Regions from separate parts of the Homo sapiens genome. Here region 2 is linked to region 1. Evidence: promoter capture Hi-C in human tissues and cell types (Jung and others, 2019). All regions are on one chromosome and are shown on one strand. The core of a region is centred on a gene start or on the middle of the fragment in contact, and the rest is flanking DNA. Distances in the headings are between cores, read along the strand shown. Region 1 holds the start of EEF1G (eukaryotic translation elongation factor 1 gamma). Region 2 has its middle 45 kb from the start of AHNAK.

Evidence for each region. The method cuts DNA at HindIII sites, captures the fragments that hold promoters and counts their contacts. A contact is called where the count stands out against the background at its distance.
Region 2: a contact is called between a fragment that was not itself captured here and the fragment with the promoter of EEF1G in region 1, in 3 of the 25 tissues and cell types used here (bladder, liver and neural progenitor cells).

Annotation. Positions count from the first base shown.
Region 1 is chr11:62,572,607-62,576,658 of GRCh38, forward strand. EEF1G (eukaryotic translation elongation factor 1 gamma) reads right to left here and starts at 1,285. Exons shown (of 10, transcript NM_001404.5): 1 at 1,225-1,285; 2 at 1-136. The coding sequence starts at 1,236. TUT1 (terminal uridylyl transferase 1, U6 snRNA-specific) reads right to left here. Exons shown (of 9, transcript NM_022830.3): 8 at 4,051-4,052; 9 at 2,446-3,638. The coding sequence ends at 2,488. RefSeq lists enhancers at 1,254-1,453, 1,409-2,370, 2,154-2,213, 2,371-3,332. The HindIII fragment of the contact is 13,406 bases long and covers 1-4,052 here.
Region 2 is chr11:62,499,927-62,503,784 of GRCh38, forward strand. It overlaps a transcript of AHNAK not described here. Among named protein-coding and RNA genes, the nearest start is that of AHNAK, 45 kb to the right of the region's middle. The HindIII fragment of the contact is 6,767 bases long and covers 1-3,858 here.

The DNA of each region.
Region 1 (4,052 bases), core at 35-2,534:
GAAATTCAGGGGTGCGGTTGGTTTGGCCAAAATGGAAGTGGGGTGGTGCGGAGAGCACGCGGACCTGAGCCCCGCTGTACTGAGCAGCGATGAGAGCCTTGAAGGCCCTCCAGTTTTCAGGATACGTGTACAGGGTCTATGGGAGAAAGAGAGGGACAAAATTAATGAGTAGAAGGGTCCCAGTCCTTAATGCCACTCTCCAGGATGACTTTCCTGAATAATCCCAATGTATTCAACTCACCCTTTTACTTCCTCTGGTGAACCAAGTCCTTTAGTACTTGTCATATGTAATCAGAATCCTCCGAAATACCAAGAACAGAACTACACACCAACTGCTAAATAAAGCTTGTTGACAGATTTGACCTTCCCTAAGGACACCTCTGGAAGTATTCTCTTCCTCTCAAATCTATCTCCAAGAAATCCAGAACTTCTAGCTCCATCAGACTCCATCTGCCTACAAACATACTCTCCTCCCTTCCCGGAGCCCTCGCTTCATTCATTGATGGTTCCGAGCGCCTGCCTACTCTACTGCTCAGCTGCTCACCGCTTCAAAAGCATCGTCCTGTCTCTAAGGCACGCACGACGATCGAGAGATTTCTAGTTCCCCTCAGACTAGCCAGAGATAGGGGATGGCATGCCGTCTTCTTAAATCAACTCCTCTCTCTCAAAAAGCCTTTCTTTCCGTGTCGCGAATATCATCCCTCCGGTCCTGTCCCGCAGCGAGTTCCCCGGCGTTGGGCTTCTCTATTATGCCGGCCAGCGGAGTCCAATTGGTCTGACTTCACTGTCCGGAGAATCCTCTCGCTCCCAAACCTCCCTGAGAGACGACCTTTAACCGTGCCAGCCGGACCTGCCTACAAAGACCCTCCTCTTCAACCTGTCCCCTGTGTTACTCCACAAAACGGACACAGAAGTTCGTCAACCTGCCCAGATACCACGCCTCAAAGCGGCAACAGAGCCGAACCCCTTTCTCAGGCTTCGGACGGCCCAGACCCGGCATCTCTTTTCTCCTCTTCCCCAGACCCTTCCACCTCTGGCCTCCGAGAGCCCCAGCCTCAGTTCCCCTCCAGGCCCTAGGAACCCTACTCTCCAGCAGTACAGTCTGTAGACCCCCGAATCAGTTCCCCACTCAACCTCAGAACTCCTCTGGCGCCGACTGGCCCCACTCGGGCAAAGGATGGCGGTGGATAGGATGACCCGAACCACCAGAGCCAGCAAACTTACCCCAGCCGCCATGGTGATTCCGCAAAGAAAGGGGGTGGGGTTCTCGGCGCTGCCGCAAAGTAAGCCGCCCGGGAGAGAAGGGAGGGGGAAAGAGGAGAGCCGTGGAGAAACAGCAGCCGGAAAGCGAGGACGAAACAGAAGACATACGTACGACAGTTCGGTATCCAGTGGCGCTGAATTGGAAAAAGAACTGGGTGGGTGGGGCCTGCTGGCCAGCGCGGAAAAAGCTCGGGCCTGCGCATTGGAGCTCTTGACTGGCCCGCCCCCCAGGTGCAGCGGGCCAATCGGAGTCTAGACGTGGAGGTAGACAGCGTGGAGGGCGGGGAAGTTGTGAGAACCCGCTGGAAAAGCCGCGAGTTCTTGGCTACGTGGCGCGGTTGTTGGCCCGGCGCGGCCAGTGCTACTGGGGGCGTCCCTCTCTGGCCCTCCCAGGGACAAGTGACTTGATGGTAGATTTTGCCAAGCCCCTCACATGATTCTATGAAACTCATGGGAGCGAGGAACAGCTGCTGCGCGGAGGTGGCAGTGTGTGTGCTAAATCCCTTTAGTTCCTGCTCTGCTTTTCCTCCAGAAAGGGATGAGCGTCTAACAGGGGCCCCGGTCTGAACCCGCCTGCCAAAGTGAGGTTTGCTCACATCCAACCCCTGACAGCTCCAGGGTGCTGTTACTGCGAGCAGGGCACCGGCCCTCCGGCCCGAAGCAGGGCAGGGACATGAGGGAGAACGCGCCCTGTCCCTCCCACCTCCTCCGGACTCGGCCCCTGGAGGGGCTGACGCTGGAAGACCTGACATCGTCGCTTCTGATGTTCATGGCTTTTGACCCATGTTCAGGTTTGAAATCTCTTACCCAGTTTAAGAACGGGATGAACTCTCCTCGTTTAAAGGAGAGAATGAAGAACGCTGAACGCAAATCTCCGTCCTTGTGCGCATAAATCTGAGGCGACAGGAAGAATGTGGAGGCAAACCTGGCTCTTCTCAGTACTGCTGGAGCCACCCACCGCTCTGCCATTCAGGAACTCTGCGCGGGTGCCAGGTGCCACGCGCGGTGCTGCCCCCGCACTCCCCTCGAGCTGTGCGAACTGTAGGAAGGAGAAGCTGGTGGGGTGGAGAGCAACAGGGAGAGACCCATGTTCGGGGTCAGACGGGAGCAGCTGCAGGAAGTTCTGGGGGAGGGGAAGGGGGATTATGACCAGATGGAAATGAAAGGAAACGGGAGACTGTATTAATAAACTAGCAGCTTTATTGCCCTTCAGGGGCCATGTCTTCACTTGAGATGTCGAATTGCTTGAGGGAGGAAAACCTGTAAGAAATGATGGAGATCAGGGAACAGGCCTTGGGGATCCTGGAGCGGGGTCACAGTGAGCATTCGGTCAGCCGGGGAGACAGACGCCACAAAGCTCAGCAGGGGCTCAGTTTCTGGCCTCTCTTCGCCACCACTCAGTCCTTTCAGCTCCTGGGTGACCTGAGCCTCAGTCGCCAGCCACCCTGCTCTTGTGCCAGCGCCACCTCCAGCTCCCTCCTTGGTTTGCTGCTGCAAGCGTCTACGGGCTCGCCGCCGCCCTTGCCACACTCGGTGCCACAAGGCACAGCGCCAGCTCGCTGAGGAGGGCAGGGATGCCCCCTTCCCTGCCTCACCCTGAGACCATTCTTGGGCTGCCTCATGTCCCTTGGGCCCCCGCTCTGCCAGGGCTGCGTGGCTGGGCTGCCCCTCTTCTCCAGGGGCTCCATGCTTTCCAGTGGTCAGGGGCAGGTCCCCTGGCTGCCCAGGGCTCTGCATGGCCCAGTCCTGCACCATCTCTCCAACCTCTATAACCATCTCTTCTACCCTGTCTTCCCCACCGTCCCCTGCACATCCCTGCTGCTCCTCTTTCCCCTCCTCACAGCAGTTTTTCTGTCCATCTACTTTGAGTCTTTTGCTTGTCCCTCCCTGAGAGGACTCCCCAGTTCCACCTCCTTCTGACCGCGTTCTCTTGGTTGCCTGTTCTATATGGCACCCCAGTGCTTCCCTGAATACCTGCACCAGGGCAGCAGTGAGCTGGGTGAAGGGTGCAAGGGGTAAAGGGATCGGCGTAGCAGAGAGCAGGGAGCTGGGGGAGCTGGGCTGCAGAAGAGGGAGCAGCCCCCAGTCCCGACCCCGGGAGGAACGGCGCTGGTACTGGAGGCTTCGGCAGTAATTGGCTGCTGCTCGGCAGCAGTTCTGTAGGCGCCCAGCCACCCGGCTGGTCACATTGGCTGCGACATTGTGACTCAGGTCAAAAGGGTCCTGGAGATTCAGGGGGCCAAGGCGCAGACCCTCCCAGAGATTAGAAGGCAGGCCCCCTGCCACAGGCAGTGCCTGACCCTCCCGCAGGGACAGCAGGGAGCCACGAAGATCCCAACAAGATACACAGGAGAAGAACTGGGCTAGCAGGGAACCTGGAGGAGGAGGAAGAGTGGGGAAAGGGGGGTCACTTAGAGGCCAGAACTGATACAGGTCCTGCACCAGAGCCATTTCCTTAGCAGGACTTTTTCCCTTCCAAGGGGCTCAGCAGAGTCCCAGGAAGCTAGGCTTCTCTGATCCCTATAAACAAGAGGTCAAACCTCTCTCCCTGCCCCCACATGATGTCCTTGCCCAGATGCTGCTGCTCCTTGCTAGCCAGTGTAACCTTGGGCAAGTCACTTAATTGCTCCCAAACATGGTTTCTTCATCTGTAAAATGGCAGTAATAATATTAGGTATCTCACAGGCTTTCTGTGAGAACCATGCCTGGCACACAGTTAGTGTGATATATGTTACCTACTGTTGATGAACATCATTACTAGTCCTCTACCAGGCTCCCCAAACTCACTG
Region 2 (3,858 bases), core at 674-3,173, 72 kb before region 1:
GCTGGAAAGCCAGAAGCCAGGAAGGAGAGCCTGCTGCTCCTGGGTGCCCTCACTTTCCAGTCCTCTGCTCCTCTGTCCCCCACACCAGACTACCTGGCTCCAGCTTGCTTCTTGTCTAAGCTGAACAGAATAGAGAAGAGGGCAGGTGAAATGCCTCAAGACAGGCCTGGCATGAAAAAGTGGAACTTAGTTTGTGGCTTACCCAAGAGATTAAACATAGTCTAGTTGTATCCACGCAATTAAGATGGGAAGGTTAAGGATCCTGTATTCCAGATCAATCTGCACTCACAAAACGAGGACCGTAGTAAACGCAAAGGAATGACTCAATAGTAGCGAAATTCAGACATCCTTGACAAGCCAGTAGGGGAGATATTTCAGGCTAGGGCAGCCTCACCTGAGGCCTTCAAATCATACTATAAAGGTACCTGGCTGCCCCACCTGAGCCCAGCCTAGCCAGCTTCCCAGCTATGTCAGTTCACACAGGTGCTAGAAGGCTGGGGTAATCTGATTGGCCCAGAGAGTCATGTGTGCTACAGAACACTACCTTCGTTAACGATCAGAGTCAGGTTTGAACCTGTTCCTCCCAAACCTACGTGCTGTCCCTCAGAGAGCCCGATGATGACACACAGGGCGTGGTATGTGGCTCCGAACCTCCCCAGTGACTTAAAAAATCCAAGTGGGTTTTAAATTGCTGCTCCCAGTTGATCATACCAGAAATCGAGCTATAGAACCGCCTCAACATCATTTTTTTTCTCCCACTTTGAGCTAAGTGAACAAACTGGGAGATTTCTGCCTCACCACTTTACATAGTAAATAATCCTTTCATCTCCCCTTTGGCTGGGAAGAGCTTACTCTGTGTGGACAGGGAACCAGCAGAAGCCTCTATGTCAGCTGAGTTTTGAACAAGGCAGCGTTGAGCTGGGAATGCTCACTATCAAGTTTTTTCCCCCTTGACAACTGGATGTGGACATTGCTCAGACATACTGTATCACATTAAAACATACAATTCTGGCCAGGCACAGTGGCTCACATCTGTAATCCTAACACTTTGGGAGGCTGAGATGGGAGAATTGCTTGAACCCAAGAGTTCGAGACCAGCCTGGGCAACATAGTGAAACACCATCTCTACAAAAAAAAATCAAAAACACAAAACAAATTAGTCAGGCGTGGTGGCACTTGGGAGGTTGAGGTGGGAGGATTTCTTGAGCCCAGAAGGTGGAGTGGCAGATGGCACCACTGCTTTCCAGCCTGGGGGTCAGAGTGAGACCCCATCCAAAAAAAAAAAACAATTTTATCCCTGCCTTTCAAAGGGATTTCCAGTCTCAATGCCTCAAATTCTACATTCTAGAAGAACTTTGCCTGCCAGGCACGGTGGCTCACGCCTGTAATCCCAACACTTGGGGAGGCCAAAGTGGGTGGATCATGAGGTCAGGAGATTGAGACCATCCTGGCCAACGTGATGAAATTCCATCTCTACTAAAATACAAAAAATTAGCCAGGCAGGGTAGTGCATACTTGTAGTCCCAGCTACTCAGGAGGCTGAGGCAGGGGAATTGCTTGAACCCGGGAGGTGGAGGTTGCAGTGAGCCGAGATCGCGCCACTGCACTTCAGCCTGATGACAAAGCAAAACTCCATCTCAAAAAAATAAAATAAAAGAACTTTGTCAAACCCTGAGAGAAATAAATGCACTTGCCAAACCCCAGCATGATGTGAGCACTTTGCTCTCCAGATGCCACAAATACTCTACTGCGCTCACATGTCAATATATCACAGCCAAGTGCTGCCCAGCAAATACACAGGGCTTTGTCTCATTCTGCAGCGCTGGACGCTGGCCACGGAGCCACTGTTGCTGTGTCTGTCAGGCTCAAAGAGAGCGGTGGGGCAGGCAGGGGGCATGGGGCAGTTCGCTGCAAAGACAAAGCCAGCCCCGCATTGCTGCAGGTGGGAAACACAACCCTCCACATCCCAGCCAGGCTTTCCAGGTCAAAAAATTCTCTAGGAAGGAAGGGAAGGAGAACAAAAGAATAATCAAAAGCCACACTTCCTAGACTTAAGCAGTGAGAGACGTTTCAGATGCCAGCCACCCATTTCGGACCAAACTGGGCAGATTTGGGGTGTCTTCTCCTCTTCCACACCCGAGCACTCCTTCACTCCCTCTTCCTCAACTTCCTGCCCCAAGCAACACCCTTTTTGCCGTTCTTGCCACCCCACCTTTCTTGGGCTTCAGGTCCTCGACTTCAGAGTCTCCAAGCTTTTCCTCTGCCTCCTTTCCCACCCCAGCAGGGCAGTCCTGGGGGCTGGAATGGTGTCAATTTGAGAAGTTTGCCAGCCAACAGGGCACAGAATTTAGCTGAATTCACACTCAGCAGCTCAAGGAAAGCAGCCAAAGTGCAAAACTTCAGCAACCGTTTATTAGAGAATGTTTATTTTGTTTTGTTCTTTAACTTTTGTTTGTTTTTACCCTAAGTACAGGCTAAAACCTGAGAGATCAAGAAACTAAACAGTAATTGACAGAAGGAAAATTGGAGCACCAGTCGCTGAGGGGAAGTGTATGAAGTGATCGGTTAGTGATAAGATGGCTTATCAAGTTTCTGCCACGTGCCATGTGCCTGGCCGTGTGCTGGAGACATAATGATGGACAAGCATACTACTTCTCACTCACAGAGCTGACAGTCCGGAGCAAGAGGCAGACAGACAAGCCATTGGCCACTAATATTTTAATATGAATAGTGCTAAGAACAAAAAAGTACAGAGCAACATGAATGCGTGAGATAGCTGGGGAAGATGGGGAGTATCCAGGAAGGCTTCCAGGAGGAAATGACCTCTGAGCTGAAACCCAAAGGATGAGGAAGAAAAGCCTGCATGAAAGCCAGGTGCTGGAAAGAGAAGAGTATGTTAAAAGAGTACTGGGAAGAGCTGAGTGTGGCTGCAGAGGCCGGCTTGAGACTGCAGAGGCTGACAGTAGCTAAGTCAAAAGCAGAGACCACCAAGTGCTCCCTGGGCATTGGCTGGAGTATGAAAAGGCTGAGACATGTAGTGTTCGGAGCCACCTCCAAGACCTTTTTTTCCCTGTGTGAACCTATGTACAGTTCACGCTGGCTTACTGAAGCATTTCTGTCCAACTTTTAATTCTCCATATTCCGTGAGAGTTCAGCAAATGCTCATAAATACAAAACAATCAACAGTCCAATCCATGTCAGAGTAGAGTGAGTGGGGGACACGCCCTGACTCCCATGTTTTTTCCTGTCCTTATTTCTGCCACCAGCAAAGCCCAATCAAAGGTTGTCCACGATTACATAACCAGGCATGGCAAGTAAGCCTCAGCGGACACACAGGATCTGACCACTTCCCCTTCGGAAACTGTAAAACAACGAAAGTGGGCTGGGCACGGTGGCTCACGCCTGTAATCCCAGCACTTTGGGAGGCCAAGGCGGGGGGATCCTGGGTAAGGAGTTCGAGACCAGCCTGGCCAACATGGTGAAACCCTGTCTCTACTAAAAGAAAAATTAGCCGGGCATGGTGGCGGGCGCCTGTAATCTCAGCTATTCAAGAGGCTGAGGCAGGAGAATCACCTGAACCCAGGAGGCAGAGGTTGCAGTGAGCCAAGACCGTGTCATTGCACTCCAGCCTGGACAACAAAGCAAGACTCCATCTCAAAAAAAAAAAAGAAAAAGAAAAAAAAAGTGAGTGTTTGCAGAACATGCAGAGTGGCCTTTTTACCTGGGTTGCCGGCAAGGTCTGGACTCACCATCCAGTGGCAAGAACCCGATTAATCCAAGGTGTTTATTTCCTTTTGATAAACAGTAACATGTGATTTTCCATTTTTAGACACAATAATTACTTCAAACTAAGAGCAG